Regions from separate parts of the Homo sapiens genome. Here all the other regions are linked to region 7. Evidence: promoter capture Hi-C in 16 types of primary human blood cells and fetal thymus (Javierre and others, 2016). All regions are on one chromosome and are shown on one strand. The core of a region is centred on a gene start or on the middle of the fragment in contact, and the rest is flanking DNA. Distances in the headings are between cores, read along the strand shown.

Region 1 (3,057 bases), core at 101-2,600, 660 kb after region 7:
ATTTTACATGGCTGTTCTGCTTTTTGGGCGATGTACTCAACTCCCTTAAGTCAAAGACCAGCTTGTACCCTCCTGTTCTGTCTTAGCAGTGTTCTCAATTAATGGTTAGGTGCTGGATTAGTGAAGAACTAGCTGATGTTAATTCTTCCCTGAAAAAAGCCTCAAGGGGTTTAGTGTTCTACTGGCAGTCATTGAAAATTAAGATTTAATTTATATCAGAAAGACGTAACTGGGTTACTGGTAAGAAGTAAACTTTCAGGAAGCTTAAGAATCCTCATAAATAAGATCTTTATTTATTTATTTCATCTTTCTTTTTTTTTTTACTGAGTACTTGCTGTATACAAGCCTACTCAGCAAGGATCCTTTGCTAAATTACGTTTTCTGCCTCCTTTTCAAAGGAGCTGTATCTCCAGAATAAGAAAGATCAGCTTTTTCCAGATCTGATGGAAGAGATCAGTTGGATCTCTTACCCTGCTGATTCTTCGCAGTAGCAGCTGAGAGTGGCAAGGTTCCTACCATACCCATTATCTACCTGTTACCATATTTATCCCCAACTGAAGTGTCATGAGTGAAAAAGCTTCCCCTTTCCCCAACTTCTTCTTCTCAAAATACTTGGGCTTTAAAACAGTCAACAACTATGGACTATGTTAAATGACAATCACTACTTCTACGATATAGATGAGAAGAGGACAGTGTGCTTTCTCAGGATAGAGCCTCATTCTATGTTTGGCTGAATTTTCTCTTTTTGTTCACTTGATCAGGTTGTCAGCTGTGAAGTTGTTATTATTTTTATTCCATGACAAAATAATCCTTCCTATTTGTTTCAGGAAAAACTCTCTCAAATTGTGTTTTTCCCCTACTCTCACACCACAACAATCATCAACACAGAAGACTTCTGTGACCAAACATATGGGGATTTTCCCACACACACCAAGAAGCAGACACCAACTGTGTGTCTTCCAATTTAATTCTGACAGTATCTCCCTAGAGATAGTATCAAATCCCACAGATTGGGGGCTCAATCCCCAAGACTGCTCCCTACAACTCCAAACACCAATCATTAATCCAGGCTTCCAGAACTTCTGACCAACTAGCTAGTTTCAAGTTGGGGTTTTCATGACACCCTCTTTGGGTTCAGTTAGTTTGCTGAACAGCTCACAGAACTCAGGGAAAACTTACTTACATTTACTGATTTATTATAAAGGATATTACAGAGAATACAGATGAAGAGATGTGTTGGGTGATATGGGGGAAGGGGCACAGAGCTTCCGTGCCCTCCCCGGGCATGCCACCCTCCAGGCTCCGTATGTTCAGCTATCTAGAAGTTCCCCAAACCCAGTTCTCTTGGATTTTTATGGAAGCATTCTTTCACCCAGGGTATGAGGCAGGACCCTTTCAGGGAAGAGTCTTAAGACTCACAATCAGAAAATGGGGTGGGGAAGAAGATTAGAGGCCTGCCTAGGGACCAGTGGAAGAAGGGCAGGAGACGAGATTCTGTTTCCTGAGGCCTAACATACCCAACATTGTAACAAAAAACTGTAACAAAGGATGTGGGAGTTGTGATTCAGGAACCCTGGACAAAAACCACTATATCATAACACCATACTATTTATTAATATTTTTAGCATGTCAAGGGACATCATAGAACCTACCAAATGTATATGTATGCATAATGAAGCATTTAATTATATCTCTTTTAAGATTGTTTTCTTTCACACTGCCTTATGACTTTAACCATATATATGTTCTCTGAGTGTATCTGATATGGTCCCTACTTATTTGGTATTCTTTCATATCAACTAGCCAATATTGAAGATGTGATCAACATTCAGCAAATACTTTAAATATTTATTTAGTAAATAGATTATTTTTGGAGGCTTTGGAATTGCTTCCATTTTACTAAATATTTTATATTATAAATGTTTTCTATAAGCAAGAGAGTTAATATTTTAGAATTCTTTCTCTTTTACCTGTCTTACTGAAGGGTATAATATGCTATCTTTTTATAGTTTATTGCTTTCTACAATGTTTATATTAACTATGTTTCTGTTGAATTTACTAAAAACATGGCATATAATAATTTGGGAAAATTGTTTTTGTAAGTCTGTAGAAGAGAAGCTTTCTCTAGCACAGGAGGACTTGATTTCAAACAGAAATCAAATTGGAAATCAAAATAAATTGATTCAAGAACTGAAGACTGCCAAGGCTACATTGGAGCAGGATTCAGCAAAGAAAGAACAGCAATTGCAGGAGCGATGTAAAGCACTACAAGACATTCAGAAAGAAAAGGTATTGCATGTTTCTGACCTAAATCTACAATCTTAGAGTTACAGTTGTCTTAGAGATCATCCAGTCAAACCTCTTATTTAGTACAGGCATCATCCTTATTTTCAACAGCTCTCTCAGAGGGACCTCTAGTTTCTGACACTTTTGATCATTGGGATTTTAATGCTAGGAAGTACTTCTTAATGGCCTCCTTGTTATTTCTACCCTTTTTTCTTACTGCTCTTTAGTTTTACAAACAAGTCAATTTTTCACACCATAGACCCTTGGTTATTGCAGAAAAGATAATATAGTTCCTCAACTATTTCTCATATAACGTATTATCCTTTAGATGTGTGAATGAGATAATAAAAGATCTAGAAATAATTCTTAAACATGTTAAGAATTCTTAAAATTAAGAACCAGATTGTCTAAGGAGTTTATTAAGTTTCAAAGTTGAAAGCATTGGTTTACTAATATATGACCAGTACATTTTAAAAATCACTTTAAATTCTGTATGAAAGAAAAATTCAGATCCTAGGAAAGAGTTTATTTTTTGTTTTATAGTTGAAATCATATATTCCTGTTAGCTGACAGGATATTACTCTGCAGTGTATATTCCCTGAAATTCTTGGTAAATTCTAAATGGTTCAGTTCCTGAAATTTAATTTAAAAATGTTCTGTGGGTGTGGTGATGGTGAAGCTGGAATGAAATTCATGATTTGTGCTTCAAGTTTAGAGAATTCTGACAGAACTCTTGTTCATAAGGCCAGGTTTGATGGCTCATGCCTGTTA
Region 2 (3,481 bases), core at 392-2,891, 640 kb before region 7:
TAATTATAGGATATGGTTGAAATTATAAGGCCCAAAATATAGAAGTAGAAAAGGCAATGTGAAAGAGTAGTTGGAAAACTACCAGAAAAGCAAAAGGGAAGATATCAGAAAGTGATTCCAGAGGCAGTGTGTATGGTTAGTACTCCTTACCGATGGGGTTAGCTATCCTTCCATCGACATGCTTAGTAACTGCTGTTTAATTGCTATTCTGTCCCAGGCAGTAAGTAAGCAACAAAGAGACAATAGCAAGCAAGTAGACATAGTTCTTTTTCTTCTAGAGTTGCTGTCTAGAGGGAAGACAGACAAGTAAATTAGCTGTAAGTATAGACTTGATGTCCAAGCCCAAAAGAATAATTAATACCTGTGTCCCCTAACCAGCCATGTATTTGACCAAGTGCCATCTGATTTGCCTTGTCACAGTTTGTTTCTCAGTGGAAACATGAGCAGTGTGCATCTTAATCCTCTGCTTAGAAACAGAAATCTGAATGTGAGGAAGACATGGGGCTAAGAGTGGCCTCTTAAAAATTAGCATTAACATAACTGGCAAAGAACTAAGAAGACCTGGGTTCCCATCTTGTCTCTGCCATTTTACAGCTGTAGGAGCTTTGGCAGGCTGCTTGCCTCTCTGAACGTCAGCTCCTTTTCTATAAGTAAGAGTTTCAGCCCATCTTCAGGACTGTTATGATGAATATTATGTTTGTGACAGTGGTTATTGGCATTACGTGTAACACTGAGAAAAGCAAGCTTTCTCTACTCCCAAAGTGAGTTCGAAATAAAGGAAAAAATTGGGTTTTTTTTGTGACAAAGCATTGTGACCTGGAGATTTCTCTACAAGTGGTAGCTTTACTTTTATGATTTCAGTGCCTCTAACACATATTAAAATTATGTTTTGTACACAAAGAGTGAACCCTAATGTAAACTATGGACTGTAAATAATAATAATGTATTGGTTCATCAGTTTTAATAAATGTACCACATTTGGACATGCAAGAGTTAATAACAGGGGAAATTTTGGTGTGTGGGGGGGGGTGGGGTGCATGGAAAAGAGGAATATGGGACTCTGTTCTTTCTGCTTAATTTTTCTGTATACCTAAAACTACTCAAAAATATAGTCTATTAATTAATAGACTATAAAAAATAAAAAAAAAATTTCACTAGTGTTAGCAAACTCTGTTAAATTTATAATCTGCAAAAAAGTATGTTTAGTTAAATAAATTGAACTTGTTTACCTTGTTAGTCAGCTAAGAGCCTCTTTTGTTCAGATAGAACAGAAGTGAGCTTTGGCCCAGCCATCTCTAAACAGTTATAAATTAGCAATCAGTGGAGTCAGGGGCTGGATGAGAGAGGTTTCTGATACTTGGCAACAGATGGTACTGCCTTTTGTGACCTGACGTGGAAATAGAACAGGTGTCAGTTTCCCCCCCAACATCAGAGTTTCATTGTAACTTCACCTAGCCTAGTAAGGACGGTCAGTGTTTGAGAACTTGTTTTTCTCCTGAAGTCTTGTTCCTATCTTCAAAATATGCATGTTACGTAAAACAAAGCAATGTTTTCCTTTACTTTGAACTCACTTTGGGAATAGAGAAGCCTTGCTTTTCTCATATAGGGTAAAGGGAGATGAAGAGGGAAAGTTGTTCTTAGTGTTTCCCTCAGGATATAAACTTGGTTACAATGTTTTTGGCTTTTTGTTTTTTTTTGGTTACAATATTGTTGGAGTGTTTTTTCAATGCTTTCAGCTGCTGAGATGAGTTAATAAAAAAGAGATTACTGTGTAATGCCAAATCTCAATTGCCTGAAACTAACTTCCTTTTGAGCCAAGGCATAGGCAAAGTGAAGATTAAACTGTACAGTTTTGGGTAGGGATCAAAATAAAGTTCGGTATCACCAGAAGAAGCAGGAATGTAAAATCTGTGAGTCCCTAAGAAATCATCAGAAAAGGCTCCCCCATTAAACTTTATAAATTGCGCAATGTAGAGAGAGAGCAACAAAAGGAGACCCTCTTTCTCTCTCCACCCGTATTTTATTTTCAATGTCTCCTTATTGATCTCACTTCCCTTTCCTACCCATCCTCCCACACTTCATGTGCCAGGGCAGCTTGTTCAGAGCAAAGCCAGCTGAAAGCTATCTCCTGGTGGTGTCTTCAGTTAAAAGGAATATTTTGGTCTAGCACACTTATTGCATGACAAGATCAGGGACTCTAGCAGACTACTCCATTACCTGAAAGCACGCCACCCAAATCCTCCTCTGGGGCCTCTGACTCTCCCTCTCTCTTACACAGTTGATTCTCATTATGTGTAGTAGTTGCATTTTATAAAGTTACTGCCAACACTAATTAGCGAATATGGGATCATTGCACCTAGAGGAAATACAGGGTTATTTCCGGTGAGGCTCTGTTCACAACATTTTCATCAACAGATCGGCACATAATCCTATTTTATGCATATTTCTGTCTAGAGATACCTTATTTACCATATACTCTTGATTCATTAGCATTAAACTCCCAACCAATGGCACTAACTCATGCCTGAAAGAAGCTTATTGAATGCCCATATTTTCTCCATAAGGCACAGCTTTTTGGGCTTAGGAACACTAGACAGCACTTCGGCATTTTGCTTCAGGCAATTTTAAACAGCGAAATCACCAACGAAATGCACAAACGTGAAAAATGTGACGCTAAATATTCTGCGAAAAGGACACATTTATAGTATGAGAGTTGAAACAGGAAGGCAGAGCATTGCCTTGTTTAACCTCAGCTGGGGACAAGTGTATCAGGAGGATCCAGTTTTTTGACACTCTGAACAGGTGCCCATCCAGGAATGACCATGAAAGCACCGTGATTATTGATTTTAGGGTCACAAATGCATTTTAGTGAGTAGGCAAATTTGCAAATACAAAATCTGTGAACAAAGAAGATAGACTCTACTTTAATCCTTTCTTTCCCCACCCACCCCATTCCTCTTCATCAGCAACATTTCAACAATCTCAAGTGTTTGTTAAAACACAAAAACAGCAAAACACTATCTCCCTTTACCTCCTGCTCCCCTCCAATTACTGTCTTATCTCTGTGTCTCCTTAGACAGCATTCTTGCCAGAGGACATCATGCCTCCACCTTGAACTCCTCACTGTCCCCGGGTGGTCTCACCCATTCCCATGGTTTCAAATAGACGAACTATGGGCCAATGACTCAAATCTCAAGTCTTCATCTTGAACTCAAGGCTCATATCTAGCTGCTAACTGCGCATGTCCACTTGAAGGTCCCCACAGGCCTTCAATGTGTCCACATCAAGGTGTCAAAAGCTGAGCTCATTACCTGCCTCTCAAACTTCTGCTTCCTGGATTTCCTGAATTAGTGAGTGGTACCACCTTTCATCCAAGTTAGAAACCTGGAAATGAGATTTTTTTCCTCCCTTTCTCACCTGATCACAGAGTCTGCAGGTCTGCCATTCTAACATCTGTCCATGCCTAATCATTCCCCACTGC
Region 3 (3,114 bases), core at 7-2,506, 660 kb before region 7:
CAGGGTGGCTGGAGCAGAGGGAACCAAGGGAAAGGTAAGTGTCAGGCCAGATTGTGCATGACCACATGGTCCTAGTTAAGGACTTCGGCTTCCACTTTGGGTGAGATGGAAGGCGACCAGGGGGTTCTAAACAGAGACATGTCATTATCTGACTTATAAAATAGTAACCATAATCCTCTTGGTAGCTGTCATTTGTTAATGCTACTATGTGCCGGTCACTTGAATGTCATCTCAGGGAATCCTCTATAAGGTGTTCTTAGGGAGGCATTACTATTATTTCCATGGCACATACTATGATGTGAATATTTGTCTCCTCCAAGCTTATGTTGAAACTGAATCCCCAGCATGGCAGTATTGAGAGGTGGAGCCTTGAGGTGATTGGGTCATGAGGGCTTGGGCTTCATGAATGGATTAATTTATATATGGGTTAATGGATTAATGGGTTATCCAGGGAGTGGGACGGTGGCTTTATAAGAAGAGGAAGAGGGACCTGAGCTAGCATGCTCAGCCCCCTGGCCCTGTGCTGCTGTGCACCATCTTGGAACTCTGCAGAGAGCTCCCAGCAGCAAGGACGCCCTCAGCAAATGTGGCCCCTCGACCTTGGACTTCTCAGCCTTCATAACTGTAAGAATAAATTCCTTCTATTTATAAATCACCCAGTTTCAGGTATTCTGTTATAAGCAACAGAAAATGGACTAAGACAGTACAGATGAGCTAACTGAGGCAAAGAATAATTGAGGACATTTCCCCAAAGTTGCACCATTTCTCCACACTGGATTCTTATCCCCTAACCCCATTTGGGCCCTCAACACAGCTCAGTGATCCTTTGGCCCGTTGACCGCCATCCTCCCCATGCCTCCATCCCCACAGAGAAACCCCATCCCCACCCCAGCTTCTTCTTGGCCTCGTGGTCCAGCCCTACACTTGTAAACATCGGTGCACCGCTGGTCTTCAGCACCTAGGCTCCCCTTCCTTCTCTGAGAGCCTCACCCTCCCTACCTATCCCCTCCACTTCTGCCACAATCTGGGTTCAGCAGGCACCACATGGCTGCCCGGCTCAGCCATGTTTTTCAGTCACGTGTGTAGGTTTGCACCAATGCAATGGGAGAGGAAGGGCTGTGTGAATCTCTAATTCCTGCCCTATTTTTTTCCTTTTTTCACAGCCACATTGCTAAAGAACAATCCCCACTTCCTTGCCTTCTGTACATTCCCAGGCTGCAGTCTGGCTCCCTCCTTCCTCATCCTACTGAAAGGAGCCCTGCTGAGCCCACCATTGATCTGCTGGTGACTAGGTGTCAGGCATGTGCACAGACTTTTTCCATTTGAACTGCTCCAAGGCTGGCTGACGGCCACCCCCTCGGACTTCTGTCCACCCAACACCCAGTCAACCATTCTGGTGGCTCTTTCTCAGTCTCTTAGGTCCCCCAGCGCCCACAATTGGTACTTTTTTTCTGAGGCAGAGTCTCACTATGTCACTCAGGCTGGAGTGCAGTGGCACGATCTTGGCTCACCGCAACCTTCACTTCCTGGGTTCAAGTGATTCTCCTGCCTCAGCCTCCCAAGTAGCTGGGATTACAGGCACGTGCCACCATGCCCAGCTAATTTTTGTATATTTAGTAGAGACAGGGTTTCACCATGTTTGCCAGGCTTGTCTCTAACTCCTGACCTCACATGATTGCCTGCCTGGGCCTCCCAAAGTGCTGGGATTACAGGCGTGAGCCACCGCACCTGGCCAAAACTGGTACATTTGAAGTTCTGTTCCTGACCATCTTCCTATTCTGCCAGCATCATCCCATTACTTCATGGACTCATGTACACTTAACGTTGTATTTTTAGCACCAATGTACCTCCTACATTTTAGTCTTTCTAACTGTCTATGTGACATTCCACTTGGATACCCCACAGATGTCTGGACTCTCATGACCCAATCTGAGTCAATCCTCCCCGAACTCACCTCCCCACGGTGATTCCAGCTCATCCTCTGCCCTCCTTCCTTTCCACCACCCCTGTCTGATTACTCAGTTCCGTAGTTTCCATCTGCCTCAAAGAGTGCCACACCCGCTCCCTGTTCTCATTGCCAGTGCCTTGCTTGATTTTATCAGCCACTCCTGCCTGGACTACTACAGTGACCTACTTACAAGTCTTCTTATTTCTTGCTTGGTGGTTATCACAAAGATCACTTTGGAAGCTTCTTGAAAGTGCAGATTCTCAGGCTCTACCCCCAGAGAGTCTGATTTGGTAAGACCAAGGTACAATCCAGGCATGTGGGTTTTTAATAAGCTCACCGCTGGAATCATCCAGTGCAGATGGTCCCCAGACCACTCTGTAAAAACCACATGACTTGTCCTCTTCTTATTCCAGTCCATTAACTACATGATTAATTACTAAAGCTATTACTACCTAACATTTTTGGAACACTTATTATATCCCAAGGCTGTGTTGAACTTTCTATATGCCTATGGGCCACTAACATAACAACTCTATGTTTTAACTATAATTATGATTCCATTTTACCTTTGGGAAAACTGAGGCACAGAGAGCTAAGTTAACTAGCCCAAGGGCACATTCTCTCTGATCCAAAGCCAAGTTCTCGTGAGTACATCTTACCGTCTCCTTTGCTCCCCATGGTCCAGCTATGCCGAATGTCTTTAGTTCTCTGAATGACTTTAGTTCTCTGCTTCTTTATGGCTCTGAGCATTTGTCATGTGGTTCCCCTCTTTGAAATGACCATCTGTATCAGTTTCCTATGACTTCATAACACATTGCAAACATAACAGCTTAAAACACCCATTTATTAGTTCATAGTTCTGGAGGTCAGAAGCCTGAATGCAGCATGACTGGGTCCTCTCTTCAGGGTCCTACAGAGATAAAATCAAGGTGTCAGCTGGGACTAAGTCTCATACAGCTTGGGGATCCCTTCCAAACTCCCTGCTTATTGGCAGAGTTCAGTGCTCTTGCAGTGGTAGGATTGAAGGCTGGTTTCTCTGCTGGCTGTCAGGCAGGGGTCGTTCTGAGCTCCTAGAGTCAGCCTGCATTCCTTGCCACGTGGCCCCTTTCATCTGTAAAGCCAGCAAAGAAAATCTTGCCAATGATGAGTTCTTGCCGCTTGTCAAA
Region 4 (3,154 bases), core at 262-2,761, 710 kb before region 7:
GCGGCGGCTCCCCGGCAGCAGCGCTCTCCGCGGCGCCCCGGGGGCAGGACTTACGCAGTGGCTCTCGGCCGTCTTGAAGTCCCAGCTGACCCTCTTGGCGCGCGCCTGGATCTCACTCATTCTGAAGAGGCAGAGCGCCGTGGTGGTGGGGGAGCGCCGCTCCTGGCCCTCTCCAGCGGCCGCGCTGAACACTCCCGCCCAGACGTCCAGGGCCTCCACTAGGCTGGAGGAGAGGAGCAGGCGGCGGCCGTCGGGGTGGCCGTGGCCGCAGTCGAGGGATGCCTGGCCCTGGAACAGCACCTCGGTGCTCTGCGCGATGCGCGCCATGCTGGGCCAGCCGGTGGCAGCGCCGCTCGTGTAGTTGTAGGGGTAGTAGGGGAAGTAGATGCTGCCGTTCCAGAGAAAGGCGTCCACGAAGTGCAGGCTGCCCGCGCCCTCGCACAGCTTGAGGCGCCCCAGCTCCTGCGTGGCCAGGCTGCGCCCCTCCGTGTCCTTGAGCGCGATGGCCGTGTCGTGGTCGGATGCCGCGGGGTTGCAGCGGCTCGCCGTCTCCGGCTCAGGCAGCACGTAGGTGGCGGCCACCGCCAGGTACCAGCGGTTGTTCCGGCCCGCGCGGTACACCACGCCGGCCGTCGAGCCCTGCGGGTGGCACGACACCACCTCGGTGCCGTTGCGCAGGGAGTTGCGGCTCAGGTTGCCCAGGGGCCGCACCTCGCAGGCGCCCCGGTCGAAGGTCCAGCCGGTGAGCAGCAGCCCCCCGAGGCCGGCCGCCCCCTCGCGGTAGGGCAGCAGCAGCTTGCTGAAGCTGCTCCCGGGCCGGGGCCGCGCGGGGGGCGCCAGCGAGACCGGCTCTGTGCAGTTGCCCGCTTGGTCCCGGTACAGGCGCGAGAGGCTGTGCTCCAGGCTGTAGTCCAGCTGGTCCAGGCAGCTGCCGCTCGCCACAAACACGCCGTCCTCCTGGCTCGCCGCGATGGCTCCGATGGCTTGCTCCGACCGCCACACGGGCTCGTCCGCGCCCCGGCCGGGAGCCGCCAGTGCCAGCAGATAGGCGAGCAGGGGCAGTGGCGCTGCGGGGCGCGGGGGGCGCGGCGGCGCCTTCCTCCGGGAGACCTCCATGGGGCTGGGGGGGCCGCCCCCGGGCAGGGCGCGCGGCGGCGACGGCGGCTCAGGCGCGCGGCAACGGAGACGCGGGCGGCGGCGGCGGCGGTTCCTGCGCGCGCTCGGGCTCCCGCGGCCGCCCCATCCCCGCAGCTCGCCCAGGAAGGAGAGCGGGGAGGGCGGCGCGCGGCAGGCTCGCTCCGGCAGCCTGTGCAGCGGCGGTGGCGGCAGCAAGCCCTGCGCGCTCCGGCACCGTTTCCTCCTCGCCCTCCTTCGCCGGAGAGTTCCTGTGTGCAGCGCTGGCGCTCGCGGGGAGGCGCGGAGGGGAAGGGAGGGGACGGGCGGAGAGGAGCGAGGCGGGCGGGGAGGGCTGGAGAGGTTGGGTGCGCTTGTGCGTTTCACTTTCCCATTGTGAAAGTGGGATGCAACTGGCCCCCTTCCTCATCCTCTCTTCCTCCTCCGCCCTCCGCCTCCTGCCCGCCCGCCCGCCCTCCCTCCACGCCCATCTCCCCTCCCCTCTTGATTCGGTGAGATAGGGAGGAGGGAGGTCTCGTAATTTGGGTTACTGTGTAGGTGGCCTCTTTCATCTATTCATAACAAAGCTCAGCCGCCCGCCGCGGCCGCCGCGGCCGCCACCATCGCCCCCTTGGCTCGCCTGGGGCTCCCGGGGCGCGCTAACGGCGCACGGAGCGGGCTCCCGCGCCCGTCCGCCCGCGGTGCTGCTCCAACGCCCGGTTTTGTTTACGACAGCAGCCGGGTCGGGGATACGCCAGGCGCGCGGAGCGAGGATCCAGGGTGCGAAGGGGTTGCAGCTGAGGCCCCGGGCTCGGGCCACAGGGCTGCTGCGAGAGCGGCTGACAGGTGTGGAGCGGCGAGAGGGAGGCCCCGGGGAGGCGCGCGGGAGACATGGCCGAGCCGGAGACTCCGGGGACCAAGGCGCCCCTGTGACAGGGTGTGGGTTTCCCCGGGTCGGATGAGTGAGGTGGCAGAAAGGCAGGCGCCACACTCTCGTTCTGGACAATCCCCAGGGCCGGAGCGCCCATATTTGCAAAGGTTCTCTAATCTCCCTTGGCAACAGAGTCCCAGGCTCTCAAGCCTAGCACTTGGAAAGTTCTGCTCACCATCTAACCTAATGAGCGGGGCTAACATTTACTGAGCACTTACTACGTGCCGGGTGCGCTTGTGAACTCACCACATGGGTTAAGACTCATAATTCTCATAACAGCCCTATTAATTAGTGACTGTTATTGTCATCCCTACTTAGTAGTCCAGGAGAATGGTTATAGAAAGGTTGTGGAACGTGCTGGCATTCTACTGCTGGTAGATATCAGAGCCGAGATTCGAATCCATATCTAGCCCCAGGGCCTCTTACATACCTGGCTCTAGTTAAGTGCCACCTGTGGCCATTGCCATAATCCCCCAGAGATCATTCTCTGTAGTGAGACTGAAAAGTTCCTCAAGTTAAATGCACCAACCAGCCCCCGCCCTGCTTTCTACTATTAGACCCAAGTCCCCGTATTTCCCTCGAGGCTCTCCATCTGTCTCATCATTACCCACTTTTATCCTTTGGACCCCCTGAGGTCTCACCACCTCACCCAGAGGGTGAATAACAGCTGGGTTGCCCCCACAGCCGCCAAGAATTTCTGAAGCACAGGGAATCATTGCCCACTGGGGAATAGGTTCATGATTTCTCGGAATGGGGCTTCCCAGAGGATGCACAAATGCCTCCCAGCTTCCCGGGGCAGCTGCGGGCACCATCAGCACCCTTACAGTCTGGCAGATGAGCCAGGGGGTGCATAGGAGTGGAGGGTGCTGAGGACCTCTATGGATCGTTGGGAAATGATCTCTGTTCCTTCCCAGGCTATTTCCAGACCCCAGGCCCCAGGGAGGGCAATTGGCTGCTATCCCCTTTCTTCCTTCCCTCCAAGTTCCCCAGCTCGAGATGCTGTTTTGGGAAGGGAAAGGAATGAGGTGGCTTTTGTCCCATGCTGAGTCCTGCCGAAGGTTGCAGGTTTCAAACTTCTCCAACAGTGCTTCAAGTTCTCCCCAGTGCTGA
Region 5 (3,446 bases), core at 611-3,110, 530 kb after region 7:
AGTTTTGTAAGGAACTACCAAACTGTCTTCCAAAGTAGCTGTAACATTTTGTATTTCCACCAGCAATGAATTCCTGTTCCTATTTCTCCACATCCTTGTCAGCATTTGATGGTGGTAGTGTTCTGGATTTTGGCCATTCTACTAGCTGTGTTGTGGTATCCCATTGTTTTAATTTGCATTACCCTGATGGTGTATGCTGTGGAGCAACTTTTCATATGCATATTTGCCATCTGTATATCTTCTTTTGTAAGATGCCTGTCTATTAAGGTCTTTGCCTTATTTTTAAATTAGATTGTTTATTTTTTTACTGTTGAATTTAAAGAGTTGTTTGTATATTTTGGATAATAGTCCATTATCAGGTTTGTCTTTTGTAAATATTTTTCTCCAGTCTGTGACTTGTCTTTTTACTCTTGACAATGTCTTTTGAAGAGCTGACATTTTAAATTTTAATGAAGTCCAGCTTATTAATTCTTTCTTTCATGGATTGCGCCTTTGGTGTTCTACCTAAAAAAATAATGGACAAACCACAGTAATTTCTCCTATGTTATCTTCTAGGGTTTATAGTTTTGTGTTTTACATTTAGGTTTGTGATCCATTTTGAGTTTATTTATTTATTTTTTTTTGAGATGGAGTCTTGCTCTGTCGCCCAGGCTGTAGTGCAGTGGCATGATCTTGGCTCACTGCAACCTCCGCCTCCCGAGTTCAAGCGATTCTCCTGCCTCAGCTTCCTGGGTAGCTGGGATTACAGGTGCGCACCACCATGCCCGGCTAATTTTTGTATTTTTAGTAGAGATGGGTTTCACCATGTCGGTCAGGCTGGTCTTGAACTCCTGACCTCGTGATCTGCCCATCTCGGCCTCCCAAAGTGCTGGGATTATAGGTGTGAGCCACCGCGCCTGACCTTGAGTTAATTTTTTAAAATTAAAATTTAATTAATTTATTTATTTTTGAGATGGAATCTTGCTCTGTTGCCGAGGCTGGAGTGCAGTGGCGTGATCTTGGCTCACTGCAACCTCCACCTTTTGGGTTCAAGTGATTCTTCTGCCTCAGCCTCTCAAGTAGCTGGGATTACAGGTGGCTGCTACCACACCTGGCTAATTTTTGTATTTTTAGCAGAGACAAGGTTTCTCCACATTGACCAGGCTGGTCTCAAACTCCTGACCTCCGGTGATCTACCCTTCTCGGTCTCCCAAAGTGCTGGGATTACAGGCGTGAGCCACTGTGCCCAACCTAAATTTATTAAGGCGGGGTCTCACCATGTTGCCCAGGCTGGTCTTGGGCTCCTGAGCTCAAGTGATCCTCCTACCTCGGCCTCCCAAAGTGCTGGGATTACAGGTGTCAGCCACCATGCTCGGCCACAAGCTTGTCTTTATAACAAAGCCATTCCCATGATAACTGATCCATGTTCACAATAATGGCAATCCATTCATGAGGGTGGAACTCCCATGACCTAGTCACCTTTTAAAGGCCTCACTTCTCAATACCATTACATTTGCAATTAAATTTCAACATGAGTTTTGGTGGGGACATTCAAGCGATAACAGCTATCTTTTCTCATTTTATTGCCTTTGTTCCATTGTCAAAGATTAGTTGACTAACTCATGGATTTTTATATTATGAACTCACGGATTTACATATGTTTAGCATGTTTCAGTCAATTACAGTCAATGTGTTTTGCTGATGTGAAAATGATCTCAGCTTTAGCTACTGGGAGTACCTTCAAGGTGACGTTTGTCATTTTGACAGGACCTTATTTGTGTTCAAAAAGCTTCCTTGCTTTTTGGCACAATAATATGTTTCAGATTTATCTTGTAAATTCCCTCTCCCATGTCTGGAATCAGCCATTTCTCTAGAAAATTCTGGTTCCTTTGAGTGGGGAGTGATGGTTAGAGACCATAGTATAAGCACGTAGGGTGCGCTTTGCTTTTGGGTTGTCTTTGCTTTTAAGCTTTTGAATGATAAGAATTATTGTTAAGAAACAGGGCTGGGCGCGGTGGCTCATGCCTGTAATCCCAGCACTTTGGGAGGCCGAGGCAGGCAGATCACAAGTCAGGAGTTCAAGACCATCCTGGCTAACACGGCGAAACCCCATCTTTACTAATTAGCTGGGTGTGGTGGTGCACGCCTGTAATCCTAGCTACTCAGGAGGCTGAGGCAGGAGAATTGCTAGAACTTGGGAGGCGGAGGTTGCAGTGAACTGAGATTGTACCACTGCACTCCAGCTTGGGTGAGAGAGCCAGACTCTGTCTCAGGAAAAAAATGAAACAAAAACCCAAATGATAATTCAAATTTAAGATATAAAATGGTTTTTTACTTATTTGATTCTGTATTTATATCATTTTTTCTTATACTGAATATCTTGGTTCTTAACATTAGCAAATGTTTTTTGCTAAAATATACATAAATAGCTTTAAAATTAACAATATGAATATTATGGCTAAGATTATTGAATTAATTTTACTGTTTCTTTTTTTAGCAATTTTTTTTGGCTTTGTGCTATATCCCAAAAGGATATGTAGTAGAAACTCTGCATTCTTAAATACTTAAAATAATTATTTTGTCTGTATGGTAATGCCTGCAATATAATACTTATTTAGGTTTTAAAAAAATTTTTTTTAAATTATGACAAAATATACGTAATTTAAAAGATACAATTTTTACCATTTTTAAGTGTATAATCCAGTGGCATGAAATGTATTCACGTTGTTGTACAATCATTACAACTAAACTCCATACTCATAAAACAATAACTCTTCATTCCTCCCCTCCCCTGAACCCACTGTAACCACAATTCCACTTCCTGTCACTATGAATTTAACTGTTCTAGGTACCTCATATAAGTGGAATTATACGATAGTGATCCTTTTGTGTCTGGTTTATTTCACTTAGCATAATTATTTCTAGCTTCATGTTGCAGCATGTTATCAGAATTTTCTTCCTTTTAAAGGCTGAATAATATTTCATTGTGGATGTATATACTACCTTTTGTTTATCCATTCATCCGTTGACAGACATTGGATTATTTACATGTTTTAGCTATTGTGAATAATGCTGCTATGAACATTGGTGTGCAAATATCTGTTTTAGTTCATTTAGGTTTTAATTTTTGTTTGTTTGTTTGTTTGGAGACAGTCTCACTCTGTCACCCAGGCTGGAGCGCAGTGGTGTGATCTCAGTGCACTGCAACTTCCGCCTCCTGGGTTCAAGTGATTCTCCTGCCTCAGCCTCCCAAGTAGCTGGGATAACAGGTGCCCATCACCATGCCTGGTTAATAGTTCATTTAGGTTTTAACTGAAGTTCTTGATAAATGAGGATATTATTGACTAAGCTGGAGAACATAGTGAGGAAAGTAAACTTTTTCCTAGGATGGTAAAGTGTTGAGATGAATGAAGAGTTTGGTTTGGTTACAATGCTTTGAGAAATCCATTGCTTGATTTCTTAGTAAA
Region 6 (3,179 bases), core at 75-2,574, 680 kb before region 7:
TTTGTTTTCAAAGTGTAATGTAGAAAAAAAAATAGCTCTGGCTGGGCGTGGTGGCTCATGCCTGTAATCCCAGCACTTTGGGAGGCCGAGGCGGGTGGATCACTTGAGGTCAGAAGTTCGAGACCAGCCTGGCCAACATGGTGAAATCACATCTCTACTAAAAATATAAAAATTAGCCAGGTGTGGAGGTAGGTGTCTGTAATCCCAGCTACTCCTGAGGCTGAGGCATGAGAATCGCTTGAACCCGGGAGGTGGAGGATGCAGTGAGCCGAGATCGCGCCACTGCACTCCAGCCTGGGCGACAGAGTGAGACTCCACCTCCAAAAAAAAAAAAAAAACTCAAAAAAAACAAAAAACAAAAAACAAAAAACAAAAAAACCCCACAAAACTCCTCACCTTAAACTGACCAAGAAGAAGCCAGACTACTACTTCCACTTTTATGTTGTGGCTGGCAGACCACAAGGAGCCTGCTCTGGAGAGGGCGGAGAGGGAAAGCCCAGCTGCTGCTCACTCAGCCCCTTTTTGACAGAAGACTTGTCCCCAGATCAGGGATGACCAGGGAAGAGATCAGTGGACAGGGTAAATCCACAGCCATTTGATGTAGGGACATTTTAATTTGGGAAATCAAATGCAGGAAAGATATTACCTTACTGTTCATTTCAAGCATCTCACACACACCATTAAATGCCCCAAACCAGGCTACTATTGAACCTTAACCACATACAAATGACATATTTACCCAAATACCCCAACATGCTAACAATCCTTTCTGGGTTGCATGTAGCCCAAACTGCCCCTGTGTGTGAATTACAAAAGGCACACTCCCACCCCTTCTTCAAGACACTTGGCTTACTTCTGTTGGAAAATTGTTGTCATGGGCTGATTTATTAGAATAAGACACATGACTATCATCTGCCAGAAAACTATCATAATAAATATACAAACTAACTGTGTTTACTATCAATGATGGTCCTTTAGATGTGGTGCCCTTGTGCAGAAGTCAGTTTGAAATAGAGAAGTTTGAAATAGTTGTATCAAGGCCATCAAAAGCTTAACTTCCTTGTCCCAGTATCCTTATTAATGCTTTGCAAAATCATGATCCTTAATGCATTTCTCGTCTTGCTATGGTCAACTTGTGATACACTGAATGAATAAAATAGAGCGAACAGAAATGAAGGATCTGTTTGTCAGATCGGTTAAACCAGGAAGTTTCAAAAGAAAGGATTGTTAGCATGTTAGAGTATTTGGGTAAATACGTAATTTGTATGTGGTTAAGGTTCAATAGTAGCCTAGTTTGGGGCATTTAATGGTGTGTGTGAGATGCTTGAAATGAACAGTAAGGTAATATCTTTCCTGCATTTGATTTCCCAAATTAAAACGTCCCTACATCGAATGGCTGTGGATTTACCCTGAGCATCAGCTCTGAGGTTGGGAATAGACGACCTGTGTACTTCTGCCTCCTGATCATGCCTGGGGCGTTCTAATCTCATGGTCTAAAGGTCTCAAAACAGGTAAAACAGAAATGAATGTTCTCAAATTCGTGGGGGTATCTCACCAGTTATTTTGGAAATAAATATAGCTGCATGCAGACAAGCTTCCATTTGTCCAGAAGTACCTAACTAAGTGGAAGCTGCCCACACTATTACACTGGAGTTAAAGTATTCTGAGCTCCACCCACTCTCTACCCATTTTTAGCATAGTGTGATGGAGGCAAGCAGACCACGAGAACCCAGTGGAAATGTCACCAAGTGACCAGATCGCAGGCCTGTTTGCAGGTGGTGTCTGACTGCTGGTCACCAGATCCCTCCCACCATAAATACAAAAGTTCCTTGTCAAAATTCTTTCACACAAGTTCTTATGCTTTAAACTCACAAAAGTAGGACAGGGCTCCTATCTCTCCATTTTACAGAATGGGAAACAGGCTCAGAGAGGCCAGTGTGTAGGAAAGTCAGGAACCAGAATATGGGTCTCTTGATTCTTTGGTCCAACATTCCATGAGTCTCAGTTTTTAGCACTGAGATCATGTGGGGGAACTTTGAAAAATGTGGATGCCCAGGCTCAATCCCAGCTCCTCAAGAGATAGAACCTGGAATGTGTATTTTTCTTTCTTTCTTTTTTTTTTTGAGATGGAGTCTCACTCTTGTCGCCCAGGCTGGAGTGCAGTGGCGTGATCTTGATTCATTGCAACCTCCACTTCCCAGGTTCAAGCAATTCTCCTACCTTAGCCTCCCAAGTAGCTGAGATTACAGGTGCCCACCACCACAACTGGCTAGTTTTTGTATTTTTAGTAGAGACGGGGTTTCACCATGTTGGCCAGGCTGGTCTGTAACTCCTAACCTCAAGTGATCACCTGCCTGGGCCTCCCAAAGTGCTGGGATTACAGGCGTGAGCCACCGCACCCAGCCTGGAATGTGTATTTTCTTTAAAGTGCCATGAGGGCTAGGCGTGGTGGCTCATGCCTATGAGACCAGCACTTTGGGAGGCTGAGGCAGGAGGATCACTTGAGCCCAGGAGTTCGACACCAGCCTGGGCAAGATGATGAAACCCTGTCTCCACCAAGGAAAAAAAAAAAAAAAAAAAGGGTGGGCATGGTGGTCCACGCCTGTAGTCCCAGCTACTCAAGAGGCTGAGGTGGGAGGACTGCTTGAACCCAGGAGGTGGAAGTTGCAGTGAACCACTGCACTCCAGGCTGGGCGACAGAGTGAGACCCTGTCTCAAAATTAATTAATTTAATTACATTAAAATAAAGTGCCATGAATTCAGATATACAGCCAAAATTTGGACCCCTTAGTCTGACACGTGCTTAATTGGAGGATCCAGAAAAATAATAAATAAATAAATAAATAAATCGGAGGATCCAGAAAAATAATAAATAATTGGAGGATCCAGAAAAATAATAAAATAAAAAAATCAGAGGATCCAGAAAAATAATAAAATTAAAAAAATCTGACATGCTTAATCAGAGGATCCAGAAAAATGATATGAAAACAAATTTAACTGAAGCATAAGGAAAAAAAAGCTTGGCTTGTTCAGTTTAGAACATCCATTAGAGTAATACCATGGTGTTGTATATTGTATTAAATAAGAAGACACCTCTGAATTGTGCAAAGAGCAGAGATCCTATGAGAAGGAAATTCGTTGATAAGATCCCTACAAATACAGTTAGAATGCAAGAACGA
Region 7 (3,362 bases), core at 74-2,573:
GGCATACTCTTCCCTACAAGGTCAGGTAGGTTCTTACTCATCATTGAGGACTTCACTTATTTAAGAAGGCTTCCCTGAGTTCTCAAGCAGTTAATGCCTCTCTGCTAAAATAGCACCTTGGAGGAACCTGTATTACAGACAGCCCTTAACACATTGGATTGTAACTAATTGTTTACTGGTCTCTCTTCTCCATTGGAATCTAAGTTCCTGGAAGGCACGGTCAGTCTTGTCTTCATTTATTCACCATCTACTGTCTGTTAGTGTGCTAGGAAACACTGTGGTTAAGTAGTTAAGGGCCAGGTCTTGGCGGATCTGCCTGGGGACAAAACAGCTCCTTGGAAAAGGTTAACTATCTAAGCCTCATTTGTAAAATGGAAACAACACCTCCTCACGATTGCTGTGAAGATGAAGTAAAGTGCTTGCAAACAGTCCATCACACAGCAAACCATCCGTCATCAGGATAAAACGCTTCCCCAACAATTCAATTTTCGGGCACCCCCACTCTAATTCTCTCATAGGACCTCGCACTCTATAGGTAATCTCTGCTTTACGGATTACTCTGGGTTCTTTAAACCTCTCCTTGGTCATTCGTCCTGTTAACAATTCTGAGTCTCAACCTTTAGGTCTAGGCGTTCAGAACCATTCTTCCCGCCTCCAACTCGCTCCAAACCCTTTTCCTTCAGCCTACCCTGGGCCTAGGGGCGTGTCAGAGGTCCGATTTATACAATTTAAACATCAAAACTCCCCCAACAGCGTGTGAGTAACTGGAGAGACCCCCAGTCAGAGCTTTGCCACCGAGTTTCGGTCTTGCCCTCCCTTTGAGGAAGGAGCAAGACGATGAGCCCCACCTCAGTCGTTCACTGCAGAGCCAGCAGGGAACGCGCGCAATGCAGGCTGAGCTGAAAGAACGAACGCGTGAGCTGAAAGAACGAACGCGTGAATGAATGAATGGGATACGTCGTAGGCCAGGCCTCTGTTACGTCGTCCACCGGCGCGGGCGTGGCCACGGTTAAGAGAGACGCGCGCGCAGTCGCGCGCGGGTCGTGCCGTACCACCGTCGCGGGCAGGCTCGGCCACGAGCGCCAGAGCCCCGCGCCTCCCCTCGCGGCCTGTCCCAAGTCCCTGCCCCGCAACAGAGCGTCACTTCCGCCATCCCCGGCAGCGGTTGGGGCGGGGCGCACGGGGGAGGGGGCCAGGTCGGAGGGAAGCCCGCCCGTGCCCGAGCCCGCGCCCGAGCAGGGACTACATTTCCCGAGGGGCCTCGGCGGCGGCTGCGGCGACGGGCGCGGCAACGTCCCCCGGAAGTGGAGCCCGGGACTTCCACTCGTGCGTGAGGCGAGAGGAGCCGGAGACGAGACCAGAGGCCGAACTCGGGTTCTGACAAGATGGCCGGGCTGCCCCGCAGGATCATCAAGGTAACCGCCCAGGCCGGCCTCCAGCTCTTCGCTCTGCTCTCGTCGGCTCAGCTGGGCAGGCAGCGCGGCCTCTCGCCTCCTTCGGCCCGCGGCCCGCTCTGGGAGGCCCGAGGCGGCGCGGAGAGGGGTTGGCCGCGGCGGCGAGGGAAGTCGGGTGCTGAGGAGGGGGCGCCGGGGAGACTTCCGGCCGCGGCGGGGCAGCCGGACAGCGGGGACCCGGGGCTTCCAGGCGGCTGCCCGGCGGGCCAGGGAGTGCTGTCCCACGCCCCGGCGGAGGGTGGGGCGGCAAGGCTGGGGGTCTCTGGGCTTGGGCGCGGGCCTCCATAGCTTCTGAGACCACCCCCCCGCCGGAGGCCGCGGGCGCGCGGGAATCGCGGCGGGGCTCGGGCGCCTGGTGGGGATTGTGGCCCGACAAGGTCCCTCGGCAGCCAAGCCCCTCTTCTCCGCCCCGACGGGGCCGCGGAGGTGCGGCAACCGCGGGTGCAGAATGAATGAACCGGGAGGGTCAGGCCGGGCGGGGCCCTGCGCCCCGGGAAGTGGCTCTGGGAGGCCCGCGCGTCCTGCCGCGGTCAGCACATGCTCGCCCCTGGTTGCCGCGGCTGCCTGGGTCCCGGGACGTGGGGGCCCCGCGCCCCGCTGCCCTTGCTTCCGCGATCTCTCTCTTCTGAATACGTTTCCGCTCGTTTATCTCTGCGAAGTGATTTTACTCTGGTTGGCAAACTCTTTCAGAGCTGTTCCGAGGAAATAGTTTTAACACAAGGCTGGGGGAGGGCCGCAGTTATGGGGGATTCTCTTTCTCTCTCCTCTTCTCTCCTCTCCTCTCTTTTTCGTAGATATGAGGCCTCGCTATAGTGCCCAGGCGGCTTCCAAAACTCCTGGCTTCAGAGATCTTCCTACCTTGGCCTCTGTGGGGGATCTCGTGAAATCTTTTGCCCCTCAATTTTGTGCGTTTTAATTATTAATTGGCTGTTTATGAATACTGTGTTTTGACAAGTATGTATGGAACCATGACATTTTCGATTCTTTGATTTTGTAAAGTCTTAAGGAAATATCGACAAGTCTTCAGACGTGAGATATTCCTTGTCATCACAACAACTAAACCTTAAATTTTTGTGTCGGTTTTTATGAAGGAAATTAGTTGCACATTTATGTGACTAAATGCGCCAGTTAAAGTGACTCAATTGCAGCATCATTTTGCTTGATATAACCTGGTGAACGTGTATGTTAATCTTGCTCATTCTTGTGAAATCTGTGGGGAGATGCATACTAAGTGGAAGACCTGTTAGGCTTCGAGGATGATGTACTGTATACTGCTTCATCCAATTGCATTTAAATATATCTGAGATGAGGGAGATGTCACTGACCTAAGGGTGCTGATGTAGAGAAATAAGACGTTTTTGTATGGTAGAAATTCTTAGAAATGAGAGAAGTAGAACAGATTGTCAGGGAGCACTGGAGTCTAATAATGTGAATCTTCATAGTCCGAAATTTGTTGTGTGTGGATTTATCTAGGATTCTGTCCAAGGAGTTTTAATTGTCATATGTATTGGCAGGTCCGTACAACGTGGTTTTAGTTATAATGCAGTCACATGGTCCCCAAAGGTCATGTTTATTGAGGCCCCAGTTGAAAAATGAATAGGGAGTGATAGAGCCATACATCAAATATCCTTGTTTTCGTTGTTACTTAGGTTATTGACTAAGTACATAATGCAAGTTGACATTCATGATAATTCTCTGAAATACATAGTGAACTAAACATTTAACACGCATTTTTCTATTTTTGATTATGAAGATATGCCCAGTAATATGAAAGCCTTGGATGAAAAAATAAATTCTGTGGAACCTTGTTTATAAATTTACAGAAATGGTTTAAGGCAATAAGTTGAAGTCCTCATGATTCAATCCATTTGGCACACAGTAATTTACACTGGGCATTTACATTTTGCT

Evidence for each region. Contacts are between HindIII fragments. The CHiCAGO score rates a contact against its expected background, and 5 or more counts as called.
Region 1: a contact is called between a fragment that was not itself captured here and the fragment with the promoter of UBE2N in region 7, in 4 of 17 cell types (naive CD4 T cells, total CD8 T cells, non-activated CD4 T cells and 1 more). The highest score is 8.3, in naive CD4 T cells.
Region 2: a fragment that was not itself captured here is called in contact with the fragment with the promoter of UBE2N in region 7 in 1 of 17 cell types (activated CD4 T cells); the score reaches 5.1 in activated CD4 T cells.
Region 3: a contact is called between a fragment that was not itself captured here and the fragment with the promoter of UBE2N in region 7, in 4 of 17 cell types (naive CD8 T cells, fetal thymus, naive CD4 T cells and 1 more). The highest score is 6.5, in naive CD8 T cells.
Region 4: the fragment with the promoter of PLXNC1 here is called in contact with the fragment with the promoter of UBE2N in region 7 in 1 of 17 cell types (naive CD8 T cells); the score reaches 5.3 in naive CD8 T cells.
Region 5: a contact is called between a fragment that was not itself captured here and the fragment with the promoter of UBE2N in region 7, in 1 of 17 cell types (non-activated CD4 T cells). The highest score is 5.9, in non-activated CD4 T cells.
Region 6: a contact is called between a fragment that was not itself captured here and the fragment with the promoter of UBE2N in region 7, in 4 of 17 cell types (total CD4 T cells, fetal thymus, naive CD4 T cells and 1 more). The highest score is 8.7, in total CD4 T cells.

The regions. Positions count from the first base shown.
Region 1 is chr12:92,781,182-92,784,238 of GRCh38, reverse strand. It overlaps EEA1 (early endosome antigen 1), which reads left to right. Exons shown (of 29, transcript NM_003566.4): 23 at 2,104-2,289. Among named protein-coding and RNA genes, the nearest start is that of PLEKHG7, 80 kb to the right of the region's middle. The HindIII fragment of the contact is 1,541 bases long and covers 580-2,120 here.
Region 2 is chr12:94,078,653-94,082,133 of GRCh38, reverse strand. No RefSeq gene overlaps it. Among named protein-coding and RNA genes, the nearest start is that of PLXNC1, 68 kb to the left of the region's middle. The HindIII fragment of the contact is 1,790 bases long and covers 747-2,536 here.
Region 3 is chr12:94,103,110-94,106,223 of GRCh38, reverse strand. It overlaps LOC124902986 (a long non-coding RNA gene), which reads right to left. Exons shown (of 2, transcript XR_007063409.1): 1 at 2,608-3,114. Among named protein-coding and RNA genes, the nearest start is that of PLXNC1, 44 kb to the left of the region's middle. The HindIII fragment of the contact is 1,868 bases long and covers 323-2,190 here.
Region 4 is chr12:94,146,934-94,150,087 of GRCh38, reverse strand. It overlaps PLXNC1 (plexin C1), which reads right to left and starts at 1,511. Exons shown (of 31, transcript NM_005761.3): 1 at 55-1,511. The coding sequence starts at 1,116. RefSeq lists silencers at 1-24, 685-924, 1,055-1,284, 1,355-1,604, 1,615-1,744 and an enhancer at 385-484. The HindIII fragment of the contact is 5,941 bases long and covers 1-3,154 here.
Region 5 is chr12:92,907,646-92,911,091 of GRCh38, reverse strand. All of the region lies in intron 1 of EEA1 (early endosome antigen 1), which reads left to right. Among named protein-coding and RNA genes, the nearest start is that of EEA1, 20 kb to the left of the region's middle. RefSeq lists a silencer at 1,712-1,912. The HindIII fragment of the contact is 180 bases long and covers 1,771-1,950 here.
Region 6 is chr12:94,120,631-94,123,809 of GRCh38, reverse strand. All of the region lies in intron 1 of LOC124902986 (a long non-coding RNA gene), which reads right to left. Among named protein-coding and RNA genes, the nearest start is that of PLXNC1, 26 kb to the left of the region's middle. The HindIII fragment of the contact is 544 bases long and covers 1,053-1,596 here.
Region 7 is chr12:93,439,908-93,443,269 of GRCh38, reverse strand. It overlaps UBE2N (ubiquitin conjugating enzyme E2 N), which reads left to right and starts at 1,323. Exons shown (of 4, transcript NM_003348.4): 1 at 1,323-1,415. The coding sequence starts at 1,386. RefSeq lists silencers at 918-1,377, 1,458-1,667, 1,818-1,957, 1,988-2,107 and an enhancer at 788-1,425. The HindIII fragment of the contact is 12,907 bases long and covers 1-3,362 here.